7 separate regions of the Homo sapiens genome follow, and all the other regions are linked to region 1. The links are contacts of gene promoters, found by promoter capture Hi-C in blood cells and fetal thymus (Javierre and others, 2016). All regions are on one chromosome and are shown on one strand. The core of a region is centred on a gene start or on the middle of the fragment in contact, and the rest is flanking DNA. Distances in the headings are between cores, read along the strand shown.

Region 1 (4,270 bases), core at 923-3,422:
ATAGGGAATCACTTTGGAACAAGGGACCCCCCCATCAGATCCAAAAGAGAGCCACGTTCCAAAATTCTTTCCAGCTGAGTCCACCCCTCCCTGGAAGCCCACCCTAGCCCCTTCTAGAGGCCAAGGCCACCGCCTTATGGAGCATGAGCATCCCTTGCTGCAGCCAACTATGCTAGACTCCACAGATGCTGACCACGGTGGGCTTCATGTTGTATTGGGCCTGCGTTAACCCAGCTCTCTCTCGAGACAGAGCGGGTGGGGGAGCTGCAGCAGAGGGCAGACACGCCATCAGCACCCCCCCGCCAACAGCACCTTCCTGGTATTTATAAACACAGAGATCACACGCACAATCCCTCCAGTGCAAACCAGTCCGGCTGCTTTAGAAACAAGTTGTTTTCTGCTTCCAGAACCACCCAGGAGCCTGCGTGATGTCTCTTCCCCCACCCGACCCCCTCTTCCCTCTGCCGGTCTCCTTGCTCCAGGTACCCCCAGACCCTCAAGGTGCTCCTTCGTTCCTGGGGGGCAGTGCAGCCTCCTGTCCGTGATCCTTACAGAAGACGGGTCGGCGGGGGGGCAGGCAGGCAGGCAGGGGGCACACAGGCGGCATGAGCCAACCAAGGCTGGCTTCTTCCTTCCTGACCTTCGCACCTGATTCCCAGAGCGGCAGCCCTCGCCCTCGCTCCAGATTACTTGAAGGAGTCCAACCATGTTTCTGGGTCCCCAACCCCTTTCAGAAAGGAGTTATGACTGATGGAGAACGGGGAGGAGAGAGAGAGGGCTTTCCTGAAGGAATAGGGTCCCAGGATGTCGAGAGGTGCCAGTGGGTGCAAAGATTTTCTTGTCTGTCCACCACCCAGAGAGAAGACGCGGGGCAGGGGTGGGGGGGGGGGGGCAGACACTGGGGAGGGGGAGTAGTTCTTGGAAGGAGGTAACAGGCTCCTGGTAGGGGGCCTACAATTCCAGGAGTCTATCTGGGTAAAATATAACGTGAGAGGAAAAGGGCATGTTGTCTCTTCAAGCCCACTCTCCAATCCCCTAGTTTAAAAGGGGGTGGGGGGGAAGGGGAGGACGAAAATCCAGAACTTACAACGGTGGCCCGTAGGTATTTTCTCGCCAAGAAAAAGAAAAGAAAGCAAAAGAGGCAGTGGCGGCGAGAAGAGGGCAGGGGTCCGCCCGCGCCGCCAGGTGCACCGGGGCCCGCACCTACCTGCTGGCCGCCGCCGCCGCTGGAGTAGGACTCGGCGTGCGCAGGAGAGCCGCTGCTGCCCCGGGACGAGGTGTCAAAGTTCCCGGGATAATCCTGGTACATGATCCGCGGTGGGGGCCGGAGAGGAAACAGGGTGTTTTTCTTCCCCCGCCCTCGCCGCGGCCGCGCACCGGCTGCTGCGCGCTCGTTCGTCCGCCGGCCGCGCCGCGGGCTCTGGGCTTCGCTCCTGGGTTTCTCCCCCACCGCGGAGGGCGAGGACAGGGAGGCGGCGACACCTCAGGAACAGCGTCCCCCGAGCGTCCCTTACAGCACTTCTTTCCGGCTCTGCGAGCGCCGCGGGACCAGTTGTCCACCCGATCCCTCCCTCTAAAAAGTCGGCGCGTCTCTCGGTCCCTCCCCTGCGCGCGCCCTCCCGCCCCCGCGCGCAGCCGGAGCTCAGCGGGGACCCACGGCCCAATCAAAAATTGGAAATTAAAAAAAAGATTAGGAGCCCAGCGAGCCTGGCCTGCCAGCCCTGGGGACCCCCGATTTCAGACAGGGCCAAAAAGGCGGAAAGAAAAGCTGTCCGCTGGGAGAAACTTCTGTTTCTTCCTTTTAGAAAAGGAGCCGGAGAATAAACTTCCCGTGGCCGACTCGCCGCCCGAGTTTCGGGGCGGCTCGGATACTTGACTAGGAGAAGGCGGCGTGCGCCCGTCCCGCGGCCCCGAGCGCGCCAGGGGGACAGCGGCTCGTGGGGCTCAAGTAGAGCTGGCGCTGAGAGGGACGCGGCCCCGCTCCCCGCTCCGGCGCCCAGACCCGCACCCCTTCCCCGGAGCCCGCTCCCGGACGGGCCCGCCTCGCCCGGCCGCGCCTCTCCCTCTCTCTCTCTCTCTCTCTCCCTCTTTCTGTCCCCGCCGAGCGCCGCTCGTTCGCTCGCTCGCTGGTTCGCTCGGAGCCCTAGCGCTCTGCCCGAGATGAGTCACTACAATGGCACGAGTTCAACTCACACTCTTTATTCTCCAGCCCTGTACCATGTGGATTCACTCACGTCAACCCCAGACTCCACCTTGCAGGGAGGAGCGCACGAGGAGGCGGGGGGAGGAGGCCGCGGAGGAGGAAGAGGCGCGGGAGGGGAGGAGGCGGGCGCAGCTCTCCCCTCCCAGCCCCGGCTCCCGGCCGCGCTGACGCCAACCGCGCACCCCGCGCGAGGAAGCCAGGCGGTGGCACGGGCGGGAGCGGGCGCCACGCACGGTTCGGAGGCGCCGAGGCAGCCCCGGCCCTCCCCAGTCCCCCGCTCACCCCCCGGGCCCAGCGCCCTTGGTCTGTTCCATTGGCGCACGTTGCCAAAGATGGTCATTTGCGTTAGAGGACGCGAGTGCGGGTTTCCTCGCTTTCGGGTGACGTGGAGGGAGAGGGATTCCCTCGCCCGCTCCCGAGTGCGCTGCGGCCTCTCCCCCGCCCTGGGAAGGGGCTCGGGGCGGGGCCCCGAGAGCGGCCGCGCGGGTCTCGCCTCCGGATTTTAGAAAATAATCACAGCCCTGACGGCGAGACGGGCGGTTCGGTGCGGCGCCACCGGGAGGCCGGGAGCCGGGCGCGCAGAGCCGCTCGCAGGGAGGGCGCGGCTGCGCGCGGTCGTAGGCGCCCTCCGCGGCGCCGCCGAGTGCAGCGGGCGCCCCGGGCGCGCAGGGTGCCCGCGCCGCCCTGCGGCCGGGTGTTGGCGGGGCACGGCGCCGGGCGGGGCTGGCCTGCCTATTTTTCCCTCCGTGGCGGTCTGCCTACCGGTTCCCTTTTTGTTTTTTGTTTTTCATGTTTTCGGTCCTACAGTTAATTCGTTAGGAGTAGCCTTGAAGATGAAATTAACCAGTCAAGACATTCCGGCCGCCCTATACGCCGGGCAATTAGGACGCATCTAATAAGAGTAATCGGGCGTTTATAAGCAAACTCCAGACTGTTACGAATTAAAAAAAAAAAAAAAAAGCCAGCGAGAGGGTGTGCCCCAACGTTGTCGTCTTCAGCTGTTTTGGAGCGAAGTTCAGGGCGCGGGTTGCCGGACATTTGGGTCCTCCTCCCTCGCTGGGCGGGGCTGGGAGGGGCGCGGCGCAGGGTACAGAGCACAGACCTTAGAGCAGGAACGCCCGGCTACGCTATTTACGAGCTGTGAGATCTTGGACGAATTCCTTAACCTCTCTGGGCCTCAGTTTCCTCCTATAAAGTGAAGGAGTTTGGAGACATGACCTTAGGCCCTTCTCTGCTCTGGAGCTCCAATCCTTCCGCTGAGATGATGGTGTGTGTGAATGGAGAAGTACTGTAGCGGAAGTCAGGGAACTTAGGTTTTGGTCCAGGGTCTGTGTTAGCCTCAGTTTACCCAATTCTTAAGTAGCGCCAGCCATCTGTACCCCACAGGGTCCTTATGAGGACCCAATGTTAAGAGGTGTTGAGAGTCCATTGCTGACAACTCGCTGTGCACCGTCACACAACTTCTGTCCTCAGTTTCCTTATCTGCAAAGTGGGGGTGTTGGTAGCAGAGAAAAATAGAGCCGGGAACGCGAAGCTTTCCTGGGGCTCTATATAAAGCGCTGGCATTTCCGGGACGGCTGGCGGCATCTGGCCGCCCCAAGGGCCCCAAGATACGGTAATCCCAAACAATACTCGGGGTCATTGTTTACAGCTATAAAACACATTCTGTCCTGAACGCTATCCCCAAGGACGCGCGCGCGTGCGCGACGAGGCGAGGCCAGCCAGACTCCTCGCACCTCCGCTGCTGCCCGCTGGACAGAGTCCCCAACTCCGCAGGCCCAGGAGAGGGGTGTGGGGCAGGCGGACGCGCGCGCCGGCCGTGGGTGCTTTGCTTTTTTCTTCCCCCTCCCCATCCCTGCGTCCTGGCTTGCCTGGGTGTTTACGCGCCTCTCCCAGCAGGACTGAGTAAATGCAGTCCTTTGACGCAAAACGAATCAGTCCTTCCCCAGCGGCAGCAGCAAAACTCAGAAAACTGGGGGTGGGGGTAGGGACGGGAGGGGCACAGAAGAAATCGTGACATTTTCCCACTCGGTTCTCAGCCCCTCCCCGCGCCACGCGGGCCTCAGG
Region 2 (4,270 bases), core at 1,264-3,763, 720 kb after region 1:
TTATTAATAAATGATGCTCTACTCAGACTTTAAAAAAAAAAAAGCAAAATACACAATTAATGTATTGATACATATTAATGTATTGATGTAATATTCGTGATACGGCCAGGCGCAGTGGCTCATGCCTGTAATCCCAGCACTTTGGGAGGCCAAGGCGGGTGGATCACCTGAGGTCAGGAGTTCGAGACCAGCCTGGTCAACACGGTGAAACCTCGTCTCTATCAAAAATACAAAAATTGGCCAGGTGCGGTGGCTCATGCCTGTAATCCCAGCACTTTGGGAGGCCGAGGCAGGTGGATCACCTGAGGTTGGGAGTTCGAGACCAGCCTAACCAACATGGAGAAACCCCGTCTCTACTAAAAATACAAAATGAGCCAGGCATGGTGGTGCATGCCTGTAATCCCAGCTACTTGGGAGGCTGAGGCAGGAGAATCGCTTGAACCCGGGAGGCAGAGGTTGCAGTGAGGTGAGATTGCGCCATTGCACTCTAGCCTGGGCAACAAGAGTGAAACTCCATCTCAAAATAAATAAATAAATACAAAAATTAGTTGTGCAGGGTGGTGCAACCTATAGACCCAGCTACTAGGGAAGCTGAGGCAGGAGGATGGCTTGAACCTGGGAGACGGAAGTTGCAGTGAGCCGAGATCATGCTGCTGCACTCCAGCCTGGGTGACAGAGTGAGACTCCATCTCAAAAATAATAATAATAACAACATCCATGATACATTCTTATGTTAAAAAAGTAAGTCACAAAAGATTGTAATTAATATGACTACATTTGTGTATGAGTGTTTTTTGTTAAAGGATCTAGGTCTCAGCACACATCTATATATGCATAGAAAATGTCTGGGAGAATATAAACAGTGGCTACCTTAGGGTATTGAGAATTTTTCTCTTTTCACTTCAAAAAATTTTGTACAATTTACATTTTCCCCCCATAAAGAAGTTTTATTAGCGTTTGTGTTGAGTTTTCCTTTTTTTAAATCTAGAAAAAAAGGGCTCCTATATACTGACCTGCTTCCTGCCGAAGCAATCCCAAAGTGTCAAGAATCCGACAAGCTTCCAATGAGCACTGGATCATTGCTTCTTTTTTCTTTCCTGAGTGAATGGCCTCAGCCACCAGTTGTTTTCCAGTTGAATCGTCCACAGGTAATCTTCATTGATTTGGTGGGAATTATAGCACAGCATTAAGCTCCAATTCTCAAGAAAACAACTACTATGCTATGATAATAGTCATTTTTTTTTTAGATGGCCTTTCAGTCTTTGAATCCATCTTGTTCTATCTTTCCAATGTTGGATTTAAAATATTTTCTTTCTATTTCTTACCCATCCCACCCCACTCTCCAATAATATAAGGGTTACTAAACGATAAAGGCTCAAATTTAGAAATAGCTTAAACTTAGATGAAAGTTACTCTTTGGGTTGTTATCTATAACCATACATTAAACCTGAAATTGGCCATTTTCCAGAAAAGAACATTAATAAGAAAAGAGCATACCTCACCCTGCAGAGCCAAGTGCTATGTCCCTGTTCATCAAATTCATATTCTAATTCTTCTCCTGTGGGAGAAAGACAGACAAAACAATTTTAATAGAATCCAAAAATTACTAGTTGATACAATGATAAATGAGAACAAACGTTAAATACGAACAAGTTCCTAGCAGTGGCTCACGCCTGTAATCCTAACACTTTGGGAGGCTGAGGCGGGATGACAGCTTGAGTTAAGGAGCGCGAAACCAGTCTGTGCAACATGGCAAAACCCCATCTGTACAAAAAATACAGAAATTAGCCGGGCATGATGGTACGTGACTTTTGTCCCAGCTACTACGGGGGCTAAGGCCGGAGCATAGCTTAAACCCAGGAGGTCAAGGTTGCAGTGAGCCAAGATTGCGCCATTGCACTCCGGCCTGGGCGACAGAGTGAGACCCTGTCTCAAAAAAAGAACAAGTTCTGGCTGGGCGCGGTGGCTCACGCTTGTAATCCCAGCACTTTGGATGGCCGAGATGGGAGGATCACGAGGTCAGGAGATCGAGACCATTCTGGCTAACACAGTGAAACCCCGTCTCTACTAAAAATACAAAAAAAATTAGCCGGGCGTGGTGGCGGGCGCCTGTAGTCCCAGCTACTCGGGAGGCTGACGCAGGAGAATGGCGTGAATCCGGAAGGCGGAGCTTGCAGTGAGGCGAGATCGCACCACTGCACTCCAGCCTGGGCAACAGAGCGAGACTCCGTCTCAAAAAAAAAAAAAGAACAAGTTCCCATACCACACTGAATAATAAATTTCAATGCATTTCACTTCTCATTCCTAGGGATTATTGTCTGATAATAAAATTAGAGTAAGTCTGAGGCAGAGAAAAAAACAAACTCAGATCAAAGTAACCAATTCTCCATACATAGCTCTGTTCACTGTATAGTATGTTTCACTTTTATAAGTTGTAGACTTTAGTGGTTATTTTAACACAGTTGCCTGGTTTTTAGAAGCACAGATATTAAGTGCACAGCTATTTCATATATTATTTATATATACATATAAAATATATACAGATATACATACATATACATAGATATTCTCTCAAAGTATTCCTACCAAAACAATCCTCTATGGAAAAAAAATTTTAAATCATATAATATAAAATCAAAACCTATGTTAGGAATTACAAAAGATCAGGTGAATTCGGAATTAAAAAACTACAGGAAGTTGGCTCAATTTCCCCACCACCAAAGTCCAGGATCTTTTGAGAAGAATGAGATGAGTCAGGAAAAAGTACTTCCTTTTTTTAAGATAAGAAGAAAGACTAACAAGATTTTTATGATTTTTTTCCCCTCTGCCATACTAATGAGGAATAATTTTCAAAATAAACCTAAAGCAACTGACCACAAGAGTAAAAAGTGAACAAGAAGGACAGCAATAAAATTATAGCATATCTTAGTATAAAGCTCAACATGAAGCTCTAGAAAACCACACTGCTCTGGATATGTTTTAGTGGTAGGGTCAGAATCTGTTTACATACCTTCTCGGTCAAAAAAGCCTTGGAGAGCCTTTTTGGGATCCTTTATATAAAAGGCCTCCCTTTCCTGCTGAAACTCTAAGACAATAGGGTTCTCTTCAGCATCATCCTCTACTGCATCTTCTCCTACAGGATATGGAAAAGAAAGAAAAGATAATCAGACATGAGAAGAGACTATTTGAATGATACCCACTATTCTCTCAGGCTGCATAAAGATATAGTTTAGGCTGGGCGCAGTGGCTCATGCCTGTAATCCCAGCACTTTGGGAGGCCAAGGCAGGTGGATCACAAGGTCAGGAGTTCAAGACCAGCTTGGCCAACATGGTGAAACCCCATCTCTACTAAAAATACAAAAAAAATTAGCTGGGCACAGTGGCGGGTGTCTGTAATCCCAGCTACTTGGGAGGCTGAGGCAGGAGAATTGCTTGAACCTGGGAGGAAGAAGTTGTAGTGAGCCAAGATCGCGCTACCTGCACTCCAACCCAAGCAACACAGTGAGACCGTCTCCCAAAAAAAAAAAAATATATATATATATATAGTTTATCTGTGATGAAAAATAATAAATACTTGCAGGGACAGGGGGTGGAACAACCACCACAAAACCACTAGTATGAGCATATTCAGGTTTTCTAAATTGTGTGACAAGTCAAAACTTGTTTTCATGGCACCTTAATTTTTTTTTCTCCATCATTATATTTTAAAAGTAAAATTACCTACCACATTGTGGAAAAAAAATTTGAGCTCCTCAGCCTGGCATTCTTGTTCTCTCACACTCATATCTAACTTTCGTTCCCAATATAATTTCCTAATACTTCTTATATCTGCCAAATAGACTGGTCTACTCACAACTTCCTTAAAATCATCAATTCCTACCCTGAATACCAATCCCAATACTCAGCTTCATAAGGCTTTTCCTTTCCTTCAAGTTCCAGCTCAAAATCCTTATGCTCATAAAGCTTCCCTGTGGAGTGCGATCGCTCACGCCTGTAATCTCTACACTTTGGGAGGCCGGGGGGCGGGGTGGGGGGGGGGGGTGGGGGGTGGATCACAAGGTCAGGAGTTCAAGACCAGCCTGGCCAATATGGTGAAACCCCATCTCTACTAAAATAAAAAAAATTAAGTTTCCCAAAGATCTAAGTCAGTGCTGTCCAACAGAAATATAATGACAGCTGTATGCGTCATCTTAAATTTTCTATTAGCCACATTAAAAAATTAAAAGGAAACAGGTAAAATTATTGTCATTTCAACATGTCATCAATATAA
Region 3 (4,270 bases), core at 1,771-4,270, 710 kb after region 1:
GATGGTGCCTGGTGTCCTTTTGCTGTAGTATATCATAGATGCAAGTACAATCATACGCTGAGACCTGGGTCCTCTCGTGAATGACCTAACCTGTGAGTGGTCTTGGGGACCTCCTGATACAGCCTAGCACTTCTGGGAGCTTACTATATCCACACAAAATTATATATATACAAGATTGTTCATTATAGTATTATTGTAATAAAAGACTAAAAACAATGCAAGTGTCCATCTGTAAGGAACTGTTAGATAACGTCCTCCATATGGTGAGAAACTCTCAATATACTGTTACAAAATAATTTCCATGAGTGGTTTAAATAAATAAATAAATAAATAAAACAAAAAAACAGATGTAGAATGGAGTACATCACATCCTACCTTTTGTGTAATAAAAGGAGGAAAATAAGAATATGTTATTCAAATGTCTTTATATGGCAAATTAGGATATAAAGAAAGATTCATAAACTAATAAAAGAGATAGCTTGTATGTGAGCAGTTATAGGGAAAAGAGTGATAAAGACAACAGAAAATTCAAAAACAAAAATCAAAGAATCTAGATTTCTAGGAGAGGGGAATAAGGCTGCTGGGAACTCTGTTAAGTCAGTCTCCAAAGATTCACTTTTCTGGATGTGGTCCATGACAAAGGGATTCATTTTTACTCCCAGACAAGTGAAATACTTACTTTGCCTGGACCAGGTGTTTTCTTTTTCTTCAATTCACCTCTGCTTTTCTCATATTCATTCTTTGATGCTAATTTAAGAAAAAAAAACTGGCAATAGCTATTTTCAGTATAAGTAAAATAAAAAGGCAAAATTCTTCCTAAAAGAACATTACAATTATTGAAGAAAAGATGCTCATGACAATGCAATTCTCAACAATTCCTTCTACTGCTGTAAAAACTATATCAAGAGAAAATTTTTCCTGGATGAATAACCCTAGTTTTTAAATCCTAAGGCTGTTCTACAAGTTTGAATATAACCACATTATGCGAACAAGTTTAAAAAAAATGAGGCTGATTTTACTAGTCCACAGTTTAACCATTACAGGTAAAACCAGAGTAAAGCAGTCCTTTTAACAATTTCTTTTAAGATAGTTTTGGAATTACTCCCATAATAGGTACATATTTGACTTTGGGAGATGTAAAATTGTGGAGAGCTTTGCACAGCCAGAGGGAAGTATCAAGGCATTAGGTGCTTTGTGGGGGAGGGAGAGGGAACCCCAGAAGGTGGAAGAGGAGTAAAAGAAAGGCAAATGGGATGGCACCAAATACAAACCTCTCTTATGTTCCAACTTTGTCCAGGGGCCTAGTGGCAACATAACTAAAGGACCATTCTCTGTGCTGCCTTCAGGTCAGCTGCCAGCCCCTCCCTTATGAAACCAGTCAGCCACCTGTGTGCAGAGCAGCAATGAAGGCTGCCGTACTACTTGCCTGAGGGTCCTGCGCACAATGAAGTGGTTTTGCTACAGTCTTGATAATCTTTATTCTGTTCTTCCTCGCTAAGTTGAGACATGTTTTCTATAAAAAGCAATATCAAATCATATTGTCATGATTTAATTCATGGTGGAAAGCCAAACAAACAAAAACAAAAACAAGAGAAAGAGAAGCTAAGTACATAATCATCCAGTTTTATTATCATCAGCTTCAACTAATCTTAAGGTTTTAAATAAATATGTTTCAAATGTATTACAGAAAACTGCCAATTTTCCACTTAAAACACTAGCCAACATTGAGGTAAAACTTTTTAGCAATACTTACTAAAAGCCTCAAAAATGTACATACTCCTTGGCCTAGAAATTCTACTCCCAGAACATATTTTTTTAAAAATCAGAGATGACCACCAAAATTTATTATTATTTTAGAAACAGGGTTTTTCTCTGTTGCCCAAGCTGGAGTGCAGTGGGGCAATCATAGCTCACTGCTGCCTTGAATTCCTGGGCTACAGAGATCCTCCTGCCTCAGCCTGCAGAGTAGCTAGGACTACAGGCATGTACCACCATGCCTGGCCAATATTTTTTTTTTTTAATTTTTTGTAGAGATAGAGTTTCACTATCTTGTCCAGGCTGGTTTCAAACTCCTGGGCTCAAGTCATTCTCCTACTTCGGCCTCCCAAAATGTTGGGATTACAGGTGTGAGTCACCCAGCCTAGCCCCAAAATTTGTTATATATATGTTTGTAATAGCAAAAATTAAGAAATAACCTACATGTTCAACAATTGAGAGTTGACTAAATACATTATGGCATATGCATGTGATGAACCACTATGCTCCTTCTCTGAAACCACATTTTAAAAAGAATAGTCTAAGGCATAGGAAAAAAAAAACTAGGTTATAAAATAGCAATATATAAACTGGGCATGGTGGCTTACGCCTATAATCCCAGCACTTTGGGAGGCTGAGGTGAGAGGATTGCTTGAGGCCAGGAGTTTGAGACCAGCTTGAGCAACATAGGGAGACCCTATGACTCTATTTTCTCTACAAGCATGTGCCTTGGGAGGTCAAGGCTTCAGAGAGCCAAGATCACACCACAGTACTCCAACCTGGGTAACAAAGTAAGACTCTGTCTCAATAAAAGTAAATATTAAAGTAAAAATAAAAACAAACCACAGGAAAAAAGGCCTGGGGTAATCCCTCATCACTGCAAATTTACTAATTATTTAATTTTGTTTTGTTTTGTTTTTGAAACAGTCTCACTCTATCACCCAGGCTGGAGAGCAGTGGCATGATCTCAATTCACTGCAACTTCTGTCTCCCGGGTTCAAGCAATTCTCCTGCCTGCTCAGAGCCCTCCTGAGTACCTGTGATTACAAGCATGCACCATCACGCCCAACTAATTTTTTCTGTATTTTTAGTAGAGACGGGGTCTCACCACATTGGCCAGCCTGGTCTCGAACTCCTGACCTCAGGTGATCCATCCGCCTCGGCCTCCCAAAGTGCTGGGATTACAGGCGTGAGCCACTGTGCCTGGCCAAATTTACTAATTATTTAATCTTATAAACCAAGTTTCAAAATCTAAGCTATTTTTACACACACATACTTACTTTGGTCTGTTAAACAAAAAAATTATGATACTTATTGCTCCCCTCCTGCTGACCTGTTTATATCCACCTTCACAATATATGGCCCAAAGACCAAGCTCATGTAAGTACCTTTTTGAAAAGGACAAATGCAGATACAGAATACTTACCTCTCACAGATGAGGAAACAGTAACTTTTCTGTTTCCCAGACAAATGAAGGTGATTCAAGAGAAGGGCTACATACCAGGCCTGGAGTTTTTATGTAGCCAAGCCTGGTTTGTTGTGGAAGTAGACATGCATGCATTCCCATACATTCAGTGCCAGTTTTTATTGTTTCTCCTCATACTCCTTATTTTCTGAGATCTTTATCTTCCTAACCAGTTTGGCCAACCAGCAGGAAAATAACCCCTGCAGTTGACAAGGGATGAAAGGATACTAAAAAGATAAACAATGATCTTTAGGGGTGGGGTTGTGGGGATTTCTTTTTTTTCCTTTGGACTTTTATGTATGATCTATAGTTTCTAAAATGAACATATAACCCTTTGTAATTAGAATATATATATAGAAAATACAGAATTAATTGATGCATATATCTATATGAATATCAATCTATTCCGTCTTTCAACATTTTTCATCAAATATTTGCTGAGGCGGGTGGATATGTGTCAGGTTTTGTGCTAGGTTCCAAACACACAAAAATGAATGAAGCAAGATCCTTCTTGAGAACTTTAGTCCAATGAGTACAATTATGGTTTGGCCTCTGTTTTAGGGATGGAGGAAAAAATGAATAGGGGTTGACTTATCCGGAGACCACCTGATCAGGCCCCATCATGTACCCTGTTCCACTGCCCTCCAACTCACACAGTGGCAGCAGCTCAGGATTATTCCACAGCAGCTATGGTTTCAGATTCCATAGCCTTCAATTTTCTGTAATTCTGGAATGGATTGGAAATAACTGCCCTTAATTTGCAATGAAGACAAATAATGACTGGCGGTCAAAGGAAGAAGACCAAGAAAGTATGTTTCCTTGCTACAGAGTCAGTATATCACATACAAAGTCAAATGCACAGACAAGAACTGGCCTTGCTTTTTAAAACCTATCCACAATCAATGTAACTGCCCACTGAACAACACAGGAAGGAGAAGAAAGATATTACCATGGGTTTGGGTTTCTTTAAAATGTGTGAGATCTGTGGGAGGCCTCATTTCCTGCACTGCTGCTTCTGGCTCTATCTCTGGCTGTGGCCTACTGAGGCTT
Region 4 (4,270 bases), core at 813-3,312, 620 kb after region 1:
GCCTTTCCCAGTAGACATTGGGACCTACCAGTTTGCAATCATTAATTTTTCATGGCTCTGTAAGGAACCTGGGCTCCTCTAACACCAAGGACCTCGTCAGTAACCTCATTTCGCAACTAATAATCAGGACTTTTGGATTTTTTTCCTAATCCGTGATTTGTATCTACATATGAAGTCTTACAGATGTGAAATAAGATTTAATCGCATGGCTCACGCCTGTAATCCCAGCCCTTTGGGAGGCTGAGGCAGGCAGATCACTTGAGGTCACGAGTTTGAGACCAGCCTGGCCAACGTCGCGGAATCCCGCCTGTACTAAAAATACAAAAATTAGCTGAACCCGGGAGGCGGAGGTTGCAGTGAGCCGAGATAGCGCCACTGCACTCCAGCCTGGGCGACAAAGTGAGACTCCGTCTCAAAAAAAAAAAAAAAAAAAAGTAATAAAACTGTTTTAAAGAAAATTCAGCTCTCTGTGCCATCACAAAGAAGATGAGGAGGAAAAAAATCAGCTCTCCATACAATACAATTCAATTTTTTAAATTAAGACCGTCCTTCTCCTTAGTACCTATAATACTTTTTTTCCTTCTAATCATTCTTGATATTTATCTTCCCATAACCGGACTCCAGCTACTGAGTACCTTCCAGGTGCCGAAATCCTTCCTTACCTTGCATTGGCAAAAAAGAGCTTCAGATGTTCAAGAGGATAAGGTTTCTTATATTTCCTTTAGAGGATTTATAAGAAAACACAAGACTGGAAGCCAAGGAACATGATTTCTAGTCCTTGTTCTGTCCCTTAGAAAGTCACTTTAACTTTAGCCCAGCCAAATAGCAGTTCTTAAACTCCATGCCCCTGCCCCCAACTCTATTCTCCTTACTCTTCTTTATGTTTTCCTACAGCACTTATTGCCATTAATAGTATTACTTGTGTACTTGTTGATTTCCCTATTGTCTTTGGCTACCAGAATGCTGGGCAACAGCAAAACCCTGTCTCTAAAAAAATTTTTTTAATTAAAAAAAAGAACTTCAGCTTATTCCCTCACTGCTGTATCCCTGGTTCCTACAACAATGCCTGCTACATCTATTAAATATCTATTGAATGAATGAATCTGAGGTGAGAGGCACCATACAAATGTCAATATTTATGTTTAAATAGCAAAAAAAAAAAAACTAACTTTAAGTATTGTCAATAGTTTCAGGATCCAGGAGAATGTATAAGCTTGCTTTTGAAAAGAGCCAGGTGCAGTGGGTCACTCCTGCAATCCCAGTATTTTGGGAGGCCGACGAGGGTAGATCACCTGAGGTCAGGAGTTTGAGACCAGCCTGGCCAACATGGCGAAACCCCATCTCTACTAAAAAATAACACAACTGGCCGGGCGCGGTGGCTCACACCTGTAATCCCAGCACTTTGGGAGGCCGAGGCAGGTGAATCACGAGGTCAGGAAATTGAGACCATCCTGGCTAACATGGTGAAACCCCATCTCTACTAAAAATACAAAAAAAAAAAAAAAAAAAAATTAGCCGGGTGTGGTGGCGGGTGCCTGTAGTCCCAGCTACTCGGGAGGCTGAGGCAGGAGAATGGCGTGAACCTGGGAGGTGTAGCCTGCAGTGAGCCAAGATCGCACCACTGCACTCCAGGCTGGGCGACTGAGCAAGACTCCGTCTCAAAAATAACTTAAAAAAAAAAATTAGCCAGATGTGGGCGCCTGTAATTCCAGCTACTCAGGATGCAGAGGCAGGAGAATTGCTTGAACCTGGGAGGCAGAGGTTGCATTGAGCCAAGGTAGCAGCACTGCACCCCAGCGTGGGCAACAGAGGGAGTCTCCATGTCAAGAGAGGAGAGGGGAGAGGGGAGAGGAAGAAAAGAGATAGCATATGAACTATTTCTTGAAATTCTTGAAGGAGTAGGCTGGAGGCAGTGACTCTCTAGCCTCAGGAGTTCATGTTGCATCCACCTGTTATTTATACCTAATATAGCTGGCAGTTGGTAAGTGTTAATTAAAATGTTTATTATAATACAGATGTAATTCATGATTTGGGGCTTTTTTCCTTGAATTTACATAATGAGCCCTCTATGCCTTATTAGAGGAAAGTGCATAACAATTAGAGCATCCTGGCAGCCCAAATGGAAAAAGTGTAGTCCTTAGAGAAGGGGCACCCTCTTTGGGAGGTGGGGTGCTACAGGGAGGAGAAGATCAAGCTGTTTAACCTAGATTCTCAGCCCGGAGAAGCAGATAGAGGAAGAGAACATCTGCTCTGGGTCAGGGCTCCATACACAGCATCTGTATTGGGTTGGTAGACACTGTATTCCCAGCACTTAGTGATGGGATTCAAACCCGAGGATCTAGAAGCTGTACCCCTCCTCCTCTGCTGTGCTGGCAGACCCCTGGCTGCCCATCATCCAGCCCATTGTCACACCTACATCTTGCTTGACTTGTGATTGGGAAGTACAGCCACTGTTCTTGCCTACAGAATCAGTGATCCTGGCTCCCTGACCTGTCCCAGGGGCCTGGGAACATGGGCAGTGGAAGGAGAAAGACGCTACAGGAGAAAGCTGGGGCTTCCTGAAAAGAGCTGGTACCTTTACAAGCTCAGACACCACAGGCAGATGGGACAGCTTCAAAATCAGGCCCTCAGACTCAATGGCTTAGCATTATAGCAAAGACTACCTGAGGGAGCAAGACGAGTGAAGCTGGGGCCACCAACTGGGTTCAACCTGTGTGTAGTGGGTGTCCTCCAGTTGGCATTCAATGGCCTCTATCATCTGGCCTCACCCTCCTAATTCAGTCCCATCTCTCTTCACTGAGGCTGCTGGGTGCCAATCTCTTTAGGGATGAAGCCTTTCCTCACCCTGCATTCCCCATTCCACCCCACATCTTCCCTCCACAGATTCCTCTCAGAGCATCCATTAAGCTTCCCTGCATGCCTTGGATCACAGGTCTGCCTCCTATTATGGGACCTAAGTCCCTCAAGGACCAGGTCTTCTGAATCTCCCCCACTCCCCCAAGCAGGAGCACTAACGGAAGGTTGCTATCCCACTCACGTTTTTGACAAATACAGACCGAACCTTCTCTACTAAGGGACTGTGCCTTGAGTTATTTTCTCTCCCTTCAGTCCCACTTCCTCCCAAGTCAACCTGAGACAGGCAGAGTGGAAGGAACTGGGGGAAGGCACCTAAAAAAAAGGCATCTAAAAAATGCACATTGAGCATCCTCTTGGGGCTAGAGTGTGGGGTGAAGTGAGGGAGGTGAGCTAGAAAGGATGGCTGGGGCTAGGCAATGAAAGAACCAGTGTTCTAGCTGGGAGTCAGGCTTAGTTCTGTGGGCAGCAGGAAGGCTCAAGAGTTAAGTAAGATTTCTGCAGTGGCAGCACCTGAAATCAGCCATTTTCCCACTTAGTTGGGAGAGTGGCAGTGACTTTCCCATCCCACCCAAAGGCCCCCCAAAGGTCCCCTTGAGAACAATAGACACTTTTCTTGATCTGCATGCTCATGCCTATTTATTTAGTTAACACATGTATTTGGTGTTTCCTTAACAATTGGCAAGTTCTTCTTCCTTATGTTTTGTCACTTAGCCTTTTTTGAAGAAGAAAGGAGGAGGGTGTTGTACACCTCTTGAGAATCTGCTGAGAGGTATGGCTTAGCTTTTCCAGAAGAAAATGCACTTATGCCCATCCACAAACAATTTTACCTGCACTTTCTGGGGGGCCTCAACATTGGCTGTACAATGGGATCACCTAGGGAATTTTATAAACTTTTTTTTTGAGACAGAGTTTTACTCTGTCACTCAGGTGGGAGTACAGTGGCGCATCTCAGCTCACTGTAACCTCTGCCTCCTGAGTCCAAGCGATTCTTCTGCCTCAGCCTCCCGAGTAGCTGGGATTACAGGTACATGCCACTATGCCTGGCTAATTTTTTTTTTTTTTTTTTTTTTTGGTAATTTTAGTAGAGATGGGGTTTCACCATGTTGGCCAGGCTGGTCTCAAACTTCTGACCTCAAGTGATCTGCCTGCTTCGGCCTCCCAAAGTGCTGGGATTACAGGCACGCACCACCACACCCAGCTCATTTTTCTATTTTTTAGTAGAAATGGGGGTTTTGCCATGTTGTCCAGGCTAGTCTCAAACTCCTGACCTCAAGCGATCCACCCACCTCAGCCTCCCAAAGTGCTGGGATTATAGGCATGAGCCAGTGCACCCGGCCATAAACTCTTTATGCCTGTTTCTTACCCCCTGAGTTTCTGATTTAATTTATCTGGGTGCAGGCCAGGTGCAGCAGTT
Region 5 (4,270 bases), core at 1,148-3,647, 600 kb after region 1:
TTTTAGTTCCATCCACGCCCTCAACAGATTAGAAGATGCCTGCCCACATTGGTGAGGATCAATCTTCTTTACTCAGTCTACAAATTAAAATGACAGTCTCTTCCAGAAACACTGTCACAGACACAGAAACATTATTTCTATTAAACAGAAATAATGTTTAACCAGCTATGTGGGCATCATTCAACCTAGTCAAGTTAACACGTAAAATTCACCATCACAAAACTCATACAATATGATATGTAGTCTTTTGTGCCTGGCTTCTCCCACTTAGCATAATTCTTTTGAGATTCATCCATGCTGTTTTATCAGCAGTTCCTTCCATTTTATTGCTAAGTAGTATTGCCTTGTCTGGATGTGCCACAGTTTGTTTATCCATTCTTCAGTTCTACAACATCTGGATTGTTTCCAATTTGGAGTGATTATAAATAATGCTGCTGTAAACATTCACATGTAGGTCTTTATGTGGACATATACTTTCATTTCTTTTGGATAAATAGCTAGGAATAGAATTGCTGGGTTTTATAAATATATGTTTAACATTATTAGGAAACTGCCAAACTATTTTCCAAAGTGTCTGTATCATTTTGCATTCCCACAAGCAATGAATAAGACTTCTCGTATCTCCACATTTACACCAACCATTGGTACTTTCAGCTTTAAACATTTTAGTCTTTGTACTAGGTATATAATGCCATCTCACTGTGTTTTGAATTTGCATTTCCCTAGTGTCTGATGATATTGAGCATCTTTTCATATACTTATTTGGCATATGCATGATGAAGCTTCTTTGATGAAGCTTCTGTTCAAATCTCTTGCCCATTTTTATTGTGTTGTTGGTCTTATTGGATTGTATTATTGAGTTATAACAGTACTTTACTAGATACATGTTTTGCAAATATTTTATCCCAGTCCATGGCTTATCTTTTGATATTCTTTTGAAGGGCAGAGGCTTTAAATTTGGATAAATTTCAGTTTATCAGGTTTTTTAATCTTTGTGCTTTTGGTGTCCTAAGAAATCTGCCTAGCACAAGGTTACAGCTTTTCTCCTGTCTTCTTCTAGAAGTTTGTTGTTTCAACTCTTACATTTAGGTTTGTGACCCATTTTGAGTTAATTGTTGTCTATGGTGTGAGGTAAGGGTTTGTGTTCTTACATATGGATATCCATTTGTCCCAGAACCATTTGTTTAAAAGACTGCCCTTTCCTCCATTGAATTACTGGGTACAGGTTGCGTTTCCCTAATCCAAAATCTGCAATCCAAAATGCTTCAAAATCATGGGCCAGGTGCAGTGTCATCCCTGTAATCACACTTGTAATCTCAGCACTTCAAGAGGCCAAGGCAGGTAGATCCCTTGAGCCTAGGAGTTCAAGACCAGCCTGGGCAACATGGTGAAACCACATCTCTCTCTCTCTCTCTCTCTCTCTCTCTCTACATATATATATACATATATATATATATATATATATACACATATACATATATATATATATACACACACAAACACACACACACACACTCTATACACACACACACACACACACACACACATCAGCTGGCCAGGCATGGTGGTTCACGCCTGTAATCCCAGCACTTTGGGAGGGCGTGGCGGGTGGATCACGAGGTCAGGAGCTCGAGATCAGGCTGGCCAATATGGTGAAATCTCATCTCTACTAAAAATACAAAAATTAGCCAGGCGTGGTGGCAGATGCCTGTAATCCCAGCTACTTGGGAGGCTAAGGCAGGAGAATTGCTTGAACCTAGGAGGCGGAAGTTACAGTGAGTCAAGACAGCACCATTGCACTCCAAACTGGGCTACAGAGTGAGACTCTGACTCAAAAAAAATTTTTTAAAAAGGCCAGGTGTGGTGGCACACATCTATACTCCCAGCTACTTGGGAGGCTGAAGTGGGAGGATTGCTTGAACCCAGGAGGCGGAGGTTACAGTGAGCCAAGATCATGCCACCACACTCCAGCCTGGGCAACAGAGTGAGACCTATCTCAAAAAAAAAAAAAAAAAGCTTCAAAATCTGAAATTTTTTTAGTGCCGACCTGATCCTCAAAAGAAATGTTCATTGGAGTATATTGGATTTCAAATTTGTGGATAAGAGATATTCAACCAGTGAGTATAATGCAAATATTCCAAAAATCCAAAAAAAAAGATCTGAAATCCAAAACATCTCTGGTCCCATGTATTTCAGATAAGGGATACTCAACCTATACCTTTGTTGGAAATAAGTTGACCATATATTTGTGGGTCTGTATCTGGACTCTTCTATCAAGTTATCAAGTGAGCTACGTGTCTATCCTTATGTCAGTATCTCTCTGTCTAATTACTGTAGCTTATGGTAAGCCTGGAAACTTTGTTCTTTTTCAAAACTGTTTTGGCTATTCTAGGTCATTTCCATTTACATATACATTTTAAAATCAGTTTATTAATTTACAATAGTTGGCAGCTGGGATTTTTATTGGAATTGCATTAATCTATAGATCAATTTGGGGAGAATTTATATCTTAAGAATATTGAGTTTTCCAGTCCTTGAAACTCTCACCATTTGTTTTTCTTTAATTTTTCTTTTACTTTCCATAGCAAGAGTGGATAGATCTTACACATATTCAGTTAAATTTAGCCTTAAATACTTCATTTTTAAAATGCTGTTGCAAATGTTTTGATAACTTTGAGTTCTTGTTCATTGCTAACATATAGAAATAGAATTGGTTTTTTTCGCTCTGTTACCCAGGCTGGAGTGCAGTGATGCGATCTTGGCTCACTGCAAGCTTCACCTCCCAGGTTCACACCATTCACCTGCCTCAGCCTCCCGAGTAGCTGGGACTACAGGTGCCTGCCACCATGCCCAGCTAATTTTTCTTGTATTTTTAGTAGAGACGGGGTTTCACCATGTTAGCCAGGATGGTCTCGATCTCCTGACCTTGTTATCCACCCGTCTCGGCCTCCGAAAGTGCTGGGATTACAGGCGTGAGCCACCGCGCCTGGCTGCAGTTGGTTTTTTATAGTGACCTTGTGTCCCGTTACCTTGCTAAACCTACTATTTCTAGTAGCTTTTTGGCTGGACTTCTTAGGATTTTCTACGTAGGTCATTATGTCATCTACAAAGAAAAAGTGTTTTACTTCTTCCTTTTCAATCTGTATGCCTTTTCTTTCTTTTTTTTCCCCTGTCCTTTTGCACTGGCTAGGCAATCCAGTACAATGTTGAGTAGAAGTAGTGAGAACAGACATCTTTGATTGTTCCCAATATTAGGGAGGAAGCATTCAGTCTTTCTGGTTGAGTATGATGTTAGCTGTAGATTTTTCATAAATGCTCTTTATCAAGAAGATCAAGTTACACCTTATTTCTAAATTTGCTGAACTTTTATCATGAATGAATGTAGAATTTTGTCATATGCTTTTTCAGCTCCTGTTGATATAATCATAAGGTTTTTAATATTACTGAATTACACTGATTTTTTAAAATGTTAAACCAATCTTGCATTCCTGGGATAAATTCTACTTGGTCATGATGCATTATCAGATATTTTATATATATATATACACACACATATATTTATTTAATTTGCTTTAAAAAGTTAAGGTTTTTACATCTATATTCACAAAGGGTATTGATCTTGTTTTCTTGCAATGTCATTGTCTGGTTTTGGTATCATGGTGACACTAGCATTATAGTGTTTCCTTGGCTCTGCTATTTTCTTAAAGAATTTGTGTAGAATTAGGATTACTTCTCACTTAAATGTTTGCAAGGATTATCCAGCGAAGCCATCTAGTCTAGAGTTTTCTTTGTTGGGAACCCCTTATTTTTAATATAGGAAGGACTTATCTTCTATTCCCTATCAACACAGTGTGTAGGCCAGGCACAGTGGCTCGTACCTGTAATCCCAGCACTTTGGGAGGCCAAGGCGGGAGGATCCCTTGAGCCCAGGAGTTTGAGACCATGGGAAGACCCTGGCTATTTATTTGTTTTATTTGTTTGTTTGGACAGGATCTCACTCTTTCGCCCAGGCTGGAGTGCAGTGACATGATCACGGCTCACTGCGGGCTTGACATCCCTGGGCTCAGGTGATCCTCCTGCCTCAGCCTCCCAGGTAGCTAGGACTACAAGCACACACCACAGTGCCCAGCTAATTTTTATGTTTTTTGTAGAGACAGGGCTTCACGACGTTGCCCAGGCTGGTCTTGCTCCCAGTGTGCTGGGATTACAGACGTGAGCCGCCGTGCCTGGCCAACCTCATCTCTACAAAATATAAAAAGATTAGCTGGGT
Region 6 (4,270 bases), core at 1,321-3,820, 560 kb after region 1:
GTTGTATCCCTGATGGCTATCCCTGTGTATATAGTTATCTATTGCTGCATAATAAAATACCTCCAAAATGTACTGGCTTACAACAGCAATAATTATTTATTGTCACTCTCAGTTTTTGCATGTCAGGAATTCACACAGGGGATAGCATGGTTTGACTCTCCCACGCGATGCCTGGGGCTTCAGTTGGAAGACGCAAAGGCTGAGAGCTGGAACTTTTCTTCATTCACCTGCTTGACAGTTGATGCTGGCTTTCAGCTGGGGGCATAATGAGGTTGTTGGCCAGAACATGTAAACATGGCCTCTACGTGTGACTTGGGCTTCCTCATAATATGGTAGCTGGGTTTCAAGATCCAGCTTCCCGTGAGAAGGAGACACAGAAGCCATGTTGGCTTTTATGAGTTAGCTTCGGAAGTAACACGGCATCACTTCTGACTCATTCTATTGATTTAAGCAGGAAGGTCCACCCTAGTACCCCACCCCTTACTAGAAGATTGTCATTGGCACAGTGTAAAACCAGGATGTGTGATATGATATAGGTTAATACAGTTATCTTTGGAAAATAACATCTGCTACACTGTACCTGCACATAGCTGGCACTTAGTAAATGCTTATGAAATAAATAAATGAAAGAACTCTGGTCTTTAAGGAAACTGGTCTCAGAAACTTAATGGAAGAAAGAAAAACATTAAAAGCTTAATGTTCTGGAGCCAGGCGCGGTGGCTAACGCCTGTAATCCCAGCACTTTGGGAGGCCAAGGTGGGCAGATCATGAGGTCAGGAGTTCAAGACCAGCCTGGCCAACATGGTGAAACCCCGTCTCTACTAAAAATACAAAAATTAGCTGGGCATGGTGGCACGTGCCTGTAAGCCCAGCTACTCAGGAGGCTGAGGCAGGAGAATTGCTTGAACCAGGACCTGGGAGGTGGAGGTTGCAGTGAGCCAAGATCAGGCGGCTGCACTCCAGCCTGGGCTACAGGGAGACTCTGTCTCAAAAAAAAAAAGCTTAATGTTCTTATAGATGAACTCTAATCACAGCAATAATGTAAATTCATGCTTATGATACTCACTCTGCTCCAAACACAAACCACTGATATGTAAATACTAATGGACACAATGAAAAGATACTTACAAGCTCTAAAACAAGATAAATAACTCCACAGATCAGAAATGGAACAGCCTCACAGAGCATTCAGCCCTTGATATGCTGGCTGTACACTAGCCCCAGAAACAGGCAGAAGTGGCAGGAAGTTCACCCGCTGTGGGTCATGGATACTAAAAGTGTGCCATTTATAGCGGACTGGAGCCGAGCCCACAGATGGAAACCATACATGCTAGGCTGTGGCTCCCCTGCTAACAGTGAAAGGGGGAGGAACCTGCTACCCCTGCTGCCTGAAGCATATTTAAGGCCCCCAAACTGAGGAGTTAGCAGGACAGAGACACAGCCTCTGACCAAGAAGTAAACCAAGCCAACCACTGACTTAGTGACTGGACTGGCAGTAGCCCCAGAAACAGCAGAGCAAGAACTCCCTATTGCCAATATAATACCTGGTTTTGGTTTAGAGACTCTTGTGTACCTGGGGGAAGCTACTGTAAAACCACTGAGGGCTGGGCGTGGTGGCTCACGCCTGTAATCCCAGCACTTTGGGAGGCCAAGGCAGGTGGATCACGAGGTCAGGAGATCGAGACCATCCTGGTCAACATGGTGAAAACCCATCTCTACTAAAAATACAAAAATTAGCCAGGTGTGGTGGCATGCACCTGTAGTCCCAGCTACTCAGGAGGCTGAAGCAGGAGAATCGTGTGAACCTGGGAGGCACAGGTTGCAGTGAGCCGAGATCTCCCCACTGCACTTCAGCCTGGGTGACAGAGCAAGACTCTTGTCTCAAAAAAAAAAAAAAAAAAAAAACACTGAAAAGCAGGGATCAACCAGGTGGGAACTGATGTGTGACAGCTTTCCAACTCACAGTAAGTAAAGTGAGCCTGCAAATGAAAAACATAATGCTACAAAATTCACCCAGCACAATCAACAACCTACAGATGAATTTGCCCAAGATGAAATTCATATAATAAAATTCAGCCAGGCGTGGTGGCTCATACCTGTAATCCCAGTGCTTTGGGAGGCCAAAGCAGTTGAATCACATGAACCCAGGAGTTTGAGACCAGCCTGCGGAACATAATGAGACTTCATCCTGTCTCTACAAAAATAAAAGATTAGCTGTGTGTGGTGGTGCATGCCTGGAGTCCCAGTATTTGGGAGGCTGAGGCAAAAGGATTGCTTGAGCTTAAGAGTTTGAGGCTGTAGTGAGCTATGATCATGCCACAGCACTCCAGCTGGAGTAATAGAGCAAGATACTATCTCTAAATAAATAAACAATGCAAAAAATACTTTAAATAGTATAATTAAGATTAACATTCATTATGAAAGAAGAAAAAATTTTGTGAAAGAAAAACAGAATCAAAGCAACAACATGTGAATATGAAAAACAACCAATTAGAAGTCTTGAAAACCTAAAAAGTCATGGAAATGTTTTTAAATCACTCAGTAGAAAAATAAACATTAGAATGGAATGAAAAATTAGTATATTGAAAGAGAAATTGGGAGAAAAATATGGATCTTGTTGAAAGCCCCCTGATTTTACAGATTGTAATTGGTGTGGGGAAGGTCACAGACTGAATGAGTAGGAGAGGCCTCCTGAATGCCAGGGCATTGCGTTTTCTGCTACCTGTCATTACCTCTCCTAATCTGCTTCCATCTTCTCTGGCAAAAACAAACAAAAGAAATAAGTAGTCTGCAAACATGGAAAGCAAAAACTGGAAATTTGAGAAGAGGCATTATGGCCCAAGAGAGGCTTGGAAGAATTATGTCCTTAGGTGCCAAACTTACAGGTGCAATTTATGCTAAAATTCTTGGCAGTGGCCCTTTCCTTTCTCCTTTCCTGCCTCCCCTCCAACCTTCCTTTTTCTTTTTTTTTTGGTAGACTTCTCTTTGTTGCCCCAACTCTTTGTTAAAATTATTATATGTGCAGAAAAGCTGAATGAACACTCTACATTTCACCTAAACATTTGCTAACATTTTGCTGTATTTGCTTTTCCTCTTCCCTGTATGTATTTAGTTTTGTTTTTGTTGAAAAGTAAGTGGAAAAAAAAGTATTTTGTTGTTGAGAATAAGTTGCAGACAACATGATGCCTCACCCCAAATACTTCGGCATACATCTCCTAAGAGGAAACACAATACCATTATCACACCTAGGAAGATTGTCAGTAATTCCATGCTATCATCTAATATCCAAGCCACATTCAAATTTCCCCAGTTGTCCCCAGAATGTCTTTCATTGATGGTTTTTGTCATCACTGTTATTGCTTTATTTATTTTCCTGTACCAGTATCTATCAAGGTTCCCATTGCATTGGTTGTTATAAAAAAGAAGGGAGACATTTTCTAGAAAAACGCATCTGGAAGTGGATTCAGGTTACTTATTTTCACCACTGTTTCTGTTGACTTTTGTGTATTCTAGGCTGAGATTTTAACTGGCCTCACGGTGGGCAGCGCTGCAGATGCTGGGGAGGCTGCATTAGTGCTCTTGAAAAGGGGCTGCCAGGTGGTAATCATTACCTTAGGGGCTGAAGGATGTGTGGTGCTGTCACAGACAGAACCTGAGCCAAAGCACATTCCCACAGAGAAAGTCAAGGCTGTGGATACCACGGTAAGTTTTAAAATTTAAGAATCATGTTTAGCCTTTGAAAATTGTTACTTAGTAACTAATTAGATGCTGTACCTGAATTTTTGGATAATGAAACAAAGCCCTAGTAAGTGATATGGTAAAAGAGAAGAACAACCAGGCAGGGGAACTGTATTTTAATCCCTCTCTAACTCTCTGTGGGACTTTATGCAAGCAGCTTGACCTCTCTGAGACGTAGTTTCCTCATTCATAAAATCAGAATAGCAGTAAAATTATACCTGTGTTACCTGTATTCATTCATTTATCCAGTCATTCATCAACAAATAGGGATTTGTGGAATACCTATCATGTCCCAGTCATATGATAGTTGCTGGGGATATAGCAATAAATAAGGCAAAGTCTCTGCCCTTGTCGGGCTTAGATTCTAGGCAGTGAACAAGTAGCTGTGTCTTACAAGCTTCTCCAGTGAAATGAACAGCAAGGAGCACTGGTTAGCAGAGATCATTCTTTTAACCAACAAATTCTAGCAGCTAACATTTACTGCATGCTTGCTGTGTCTCTTTTGCATACATCTCATTTAATCTTTTTTTTC
Region 7 (4,270 bases), core at 1,309-3,808, 540 kb after region 1:
AACACAGACAGGTTATCTCAGACTATGCGGGTTTCCAAGAATCTTTCTACCCAAAAGTATTTCACTGCTGTAGTCAAAAGAGTGTGAGGGTGCCTTCAAGGAGGCTGTTGGAAACAAAACCTTGTATGGAACCATTCTAGAATAGTTTGGGTGCTTGTAGTCATGTTCCTTCAAGAATGGAACATGACAGCCGGGTGTGGTGGCTCACGCCTGTAATCCCAGCACTTTGGGAGGCTGAGATGGGCAGATCACCTGAGGTCAGGAGTTCGAGACCACCCTGGCTAACATGGTGAAACCCCATTTCTACTAAAAGTACAAAAATTAGCCAGGTGTGATGGTGCACACCTGTAATCCCAGCTACTCGGGAGGCTGAGGCAGGAGAATCACCTGAACCCAAGAGGCAGAGGTTGCAGTGAGCGGAGATCGCACCATTGCACTCCAGCTTGGGCAACAAGAGCGAAACTCCGTCTCAAAAATAAAAAAATAAAAAATTTAAAAAAAAAAGAATGGAACATGACTACAAGATGGGTCCAAGGAAAATGAACAGAAGGACAACTAATGTGATCAAATCCTAAAGAATCTCCAGTAAGCTTTTAAGAAGACTAGACTAACAAATATGAAATCGCCAACAATATAAGATGGTATTGAACTATGGGCTTGATTAGGAATGTCATAGGAGGTGTGGAGATGAGAGGATTAACAAGGGCCAGAGTAGGGAAGGTAGACCTTAAGCTGATACTTGAAAAACAGGTGAGGTTTGATTTAGTGGAGGAGAGAGGGCAAAGGACTTCTAAGTTCTCAGAAATGATGGTAAGGAAACAGACAGGTTTCTTTCTATTGATATATCCAGAAAGGAACAATTTTCTGTGGAAGAATAGAACACACCAGGAGTGACTGAAACCTGGATTGAGACATAGTCCATTGAAGTAATGCTCACCTGCAGGACAGAAAAATAGAAGTTCAGTTCAGAAGTATAGTTCAGAGGTAGCAAGACTAAAGGCCTACAGGAGCCAAGCAGGTAACAGAAATTGCAGTAGGCTAGGTGAAGCCAAGAGTCTATGAGCACTTTAAGGCACTCACCTCTCAGTTCCAGGTGGTTTGCCTTGCAGGAATGTGGACCCAGTGTTACCAGAACCTCTGAATTTTCAGAACCCCCTGGACATCTGTCTGTTTTTGTGAAGTCTTCTAATATTTAAGTATTGAGAACTGATAAAAATAGCAGGGCATTTACACCAAAACCTGCACACAGATATTTATAGCAGCTTTATTCATAATTTCCCAAACTTGGAAGACATCCTTTAGTAGATAAATGGATAAATAAACTCTGGTACATCGAGACAATGGAATATCATTCAGCCCTAAAAAGAAATTAGCTATCAAGGCATAAAAAGACACAGAGGAACTTTAGTTGCATATTACTAAGTAAAAGAAGTCAATCTGAAAAGGCTGCATACTGTGTAATTACAACTGTATGATATTCTGGAAAAGGCAAAACTATGGAGACAAAAGATTAGTGGTTGCCAGAGGCTAGTGGGGAGAGAAGGATGAATATACAAAGCATAGAGGATTTTTAGGGTAGTGAAACTATTGTGTATAGTACTATAATGGTGGGTATATGACATTTTACATTTGTTAAACCCTATAGAATATCCGACACCAAGGGTGAACCCTAATGTAAACTATGGAGTTTGAGTGATAATGATATGTCATGTAGGTTTATCAGTTGTAACAAAGTACCACTTAGTTGCAGGATGTTAATAGTGGGGGATACTAGTTGCCGGAGGAGACAGAGAGTATATGGGAACTCTGTACTTTCTACTCTCTTAGGCTGAGAACCTAAAACTGTTTTTAAAATAAAGTCTAGTTTTTAGAAAACAGTAGTAGGGCAAACAAAACATATCTAGCAGTCAGATTGAACTTTCAGCCCACCAATTTACAACCTCTGCTGTAGATTCAACTGTAGAGTTCAAGCCAAGGTCCAGCCAAGGTAGCAGTCAGACAAATGGTTAGCATTAGAGGGGTATGGGAGAAGATAACAAGGGTGTCCTGACTAGCACAGTGATTGCAGCACCACGGAGGCCAGAAACGGACAGTAGGGAGATGTCGATAAGATGCCAGCATTAGTATCAAAGGCCTTGCAATCATAGTTTTCTGGTTTTGAGCCACAGACCTAAAGGCCTGGCCCCTGCAAATGGCTGGCCAGGCAGAGAAGAGTGCCTGTTCTGAAAGAGCTAGAGGGCTAACCAGATGATTAGGATACACACTCATGCTGACAAAAACAGGGGAGATCCAGTTACCAAAGTGGACCACAAAGCAAGAATGTGGTCACAGGATCCAGTCACAGACAAAGCTACTTAAATTATAGTTCAGTGGTTCAGGGTTACACTAGGCACTAGGCTAACTAGCTTTTTCTTTTCTTTTTTTTCTTTTTTTCTTTTTCTTTTTTTTTTTTTTTTTTTTTTTTTTTGAGACAGAGTCTTGCTCTGTCGCCCAGGCTGGAGTGCAGTGGCACAATCTCAGCTTACTGCAACCTCCGCCTCCTGGGTTTAAGCAGTTCTACCTCAGCCTCTCAAGTAACTGGGACTACAGGCGTGCGCCACCACACCCGGCTGATTTTTGTATTTTCAGTAGAGATGGGGTTTTACCATGTTGACCAGGCTGGCCTCGAACTCCTGACCTCAGGTGATCCATCCGCCTTGACCTCCCAAAGTGTTGGGATTACAGGCATGAGCCACCGCACCCAGCCTGAAGCTAGTCAGGACTTTGTTAATAACAGACAATAGACACCCAATTCAAAATAGCTTAAGCAAAAAAAAATAAAATAAAATTTTTAAAAAGAATGTATTGCCTCATGTAACTGAAAAGCCCAGTGGTAGAGCTGGCTTCAGATGACTTAGGGTTCCATTAGGCTATTAGGAGTCTGTGTCTGTTTGTGTCTGTCACCCTCCTGCTTTCTGTTATGTTTCTCTCTTTTCTTTCTAGCTGTCTCCACATGGTGAGCCCCAGTGGCTGCAGGCTTACATTCTCTTATAGCCAGCAATCTTACTGGGAAGAAAACTTGTCTTCCCTGGTAGTTTCAGTAAAAGTCCCAGGACTGAGTCTTATTGGACTAGTTTAGGTCACATGCTCATTCATGAACCCATCACTGTGACTAGGATGGTGGAACACACTTTTTTTTTTTTTTTTTTGAGACAGTCTCACTCTGTCACCCAGACTATAGTGCAGTGGTGTGACCTCGGCTCACTGCAACCTCCACCTCCGGGTTCAAGCAATTCTCCTGCTTCAGCCTCCCGAGTAGCTGGGACTACAAGGAACATGCTTTTTAATCAGGCCTGGGTCCCTTGGCCAACCTAATCTTGTTGTCTATAGAATGGGACAGAAATAGGTGTCCAAAGGAAAAACTGAAATACCTTTAACAGAATAGATGCTAGGATGCAAAAACACAATTCCATTATACCAAGTTACCCAAGTTAGCTAGGGCCTTTAAAATTTCCTTCTCTTTGCCTCTATGTGTCAGTGTCAAGGGAGAAGATAAAAAGATTCTGGAACATCAGGCAAGTCATGACAAAGATACCCATATTTACAGTGAAGTACAAACAGCTGAGATTCTTCATAAATATTGAGGATTGATGATGGTAGATAACTCTATCTCAGTGGGAATTATCACATGAACAGCTCAAAATGAGAATGACTTAATGAGTGATGTTCATTAAATACTTCACATTTTAAGTAGGATATAAGTGAAACATTATATAACAATTCTTTGGGCTGCAATCAAGTCTAGCATCTTATATTAAGAAGATTAATTAGTTAATGTTTATAAAGTACTGTGCAGATATGCCCTTTTAAAATGCTAAGTATTCTAAAAACTACATTGTAGCATTTTACTAACTCTAAAAGATCTAATATTCATTATTTCTTTGGTACAGGTTGGCAAAGATTCTTTTGGCAATGATTATATAGAAAACTTAAAACAGAATGATATTTCTACAGGTAAAATTCCCACCTTTTTTAAAGTTAGTGTTTATAGCTTTTTTCTGTGATTTTGTTATGAGAAAAATTGAATCTAGAGGAGGATTATTAGACCTTCCCCTGGTGGCCAGAGAATTTCTATGCACAGCTTTGTCCATTCTTGCTTAAATGTCCTTGGGTTGATTCTTCCCTGTACATTCCTCCAGATGGGAATAAAATGATAGGAGGTTACAAACCTTCATCTCATGAACATGTGACAAATGACAAGGAGAAAAAGGTGCTGCATTCACAAAAGATG

The links. The method cuts DNA at HindIII sites, captures the fragments that hold promoters and counts their contacts. A CHiCAGO score of 5 or more calls a contact.
Region 2: a contact is called between a fragment that was not itself captured here and the fragment with the promoter of FOSL2 in region 1, in 1 of 17 cell types (M0 macrophages). The highest score is 5.4, in M0 macrophages.
Region 3: a fragment that was not itself captured here is called in contact with the fragment with the promoter of FOSL2 in region 1 in 1 of 17 cell types (M1 macrophages); the score reaches 5.4 in M1 macrophages.
Region 4: a fragment that was not itself captured here is called in contact with the fragment with the promoter of FOSL2 in region 1 in 15 of 17 cell types (M2 macrophages, M0 macrophages, activated CD4 T cells and 12 more); the score reaches 16.4 in M2 macrophages.
Region 5: a contact is called between a fragment that was not itself captured here and the fragment with the promoter of FOSL2 in region 1, in 5 of 17 cell types (endothelial precursors, M0 macrophages, M1 macrophages and 2 more). The highest score is 10.1, in endothelial precursors.
Region 6: a fragment that was not itself captured here is called in contact with the fragment with the promoter of FOSL2 in region 1 in 4 of 17 cell types (monocytes, M1 macrophages, M2 macrophages and 1 more); the score reaches 8.2 in monocytes.
Region 7: a fragment that was not itself captured here is called in contact with the fragment with the promoter of FOSL2 in region 1 in 1 of 17 cell types (endothelial precursors); the score reaches 5.6 in endothelial precursors.

Annotation. Positions count from the first base shown.
Region 1 is chr2:28,390,760-28,395,029 of GRCh38, reverse strand. FOSL2 (FOS like 2, AP-1 transcription factor subunit) reads right to left here and starts at 2,172. Exons shown (of 4, transcript NM_005253.4): 1 at 1,208-2,172. The coding sequence starts at 1,309. It overlaps FOSL2-AS1 (FOSL2 antisense RNA 1), which reads left to right and starts at 358. Exons shown (of 2, transcript NR_103831.1): 1 at 358-482. RefSeq lists enhancers at 54-554, 555-1,055, 1,211-2,142 and silencers at 1,173-1,349, 1,836-2,955. The HindIII fragment of the contact is 9,962 bases long and covers 1-3,739 here.
Region 2 is chr2:27,666,131-27,670,400 of GRCh38, reverse strand. SLC4A1AP (solute carrier family 4 member 1 adaptor protein) reads right to left here. Exons shown (of 14, transcript NM_018158.3): 3 at 3,011-3,133; 4 at 1,498-1,558; 5 at 1,014-1,153. Among named protein-coding and RNA genes, the nearest start is that of SLC4A1AP, 4.4 kb to the right of the region's middle. The HindIII fragment of the contact is 2,905 bases long and covers 1,061-3,965 here.
Region 3 is chr2:27,685,177-27,689,446 of GRCh38, reverse strand. SLC4A1AP (solute carrier family 4 member 1 adaptor protein) reads right to left here. Exons shown (of 14, transcript NM_018158.3): 10 at 4,170-4,270; 11 at 1,427-1,513; 12 at 680-747. Among named protein-coding and RNA genes, the nearest start is that of SLC4A1AP, 23 kb to the right of the region's middle. The HindIII fragment of the contact is 8,277 bases long and covers 1-4,270 here.
Region 4 is chr2:27,766,806-27,771,075 of GRCh38, reverse strand. No RefSeq gene overlaps it. Among named protein-coding and RNA genes, the nearest start is that of MRPL33, 2.8 kb to the left of the region's middle. RefSeq lists a silencer at 3,128-3,328. The HindIII fragment of the contact is 1,694 bases long and covers 1,216-2,909 here.
Region 5 is chr2:27,787,146-27,791,415 of GRCh38, reverse strand. All of the region lies in intron 7 of RBKS (ribokinase), which reads left to right. Among named protein-coding and RNA genes, the nearest start is that of MRPL33, 18 kb to the right of the region's middle. The HindIII fragment of the contact is 757 bases long and covers 2,019-2,775 here.
Region 6 is chr2:27,826,999-27,831,268 of GRCh38, reverse strand. It overlaps RBKS (ribokinase), which reads left to right. Exons shown (of 8, transcript NM_022128.3): 7 at 3,514-3,702. Among named protein-coding and RNA genes, the nearest start is that of MRPL33, 57 kb to the right of the region's middle. The HindIII fragment of the contact is 3,134 bases long and covers 1,004-4,137 here.
Region 7 is chr2:27,847,757-27,852,026 of GRCh38, reverse strand. RBKS (ribokinase) reads left to right here. Exons shown (of 8, transcript NM_022128.3): 3 at 3,930-3,993. Among named protein-coding and RNA genes, the nearest start is that of RBKS, 40 kb to the left of the region's middle. The HindIII fragment of the contact is 3,931 bases long and covers 593-4,270 here.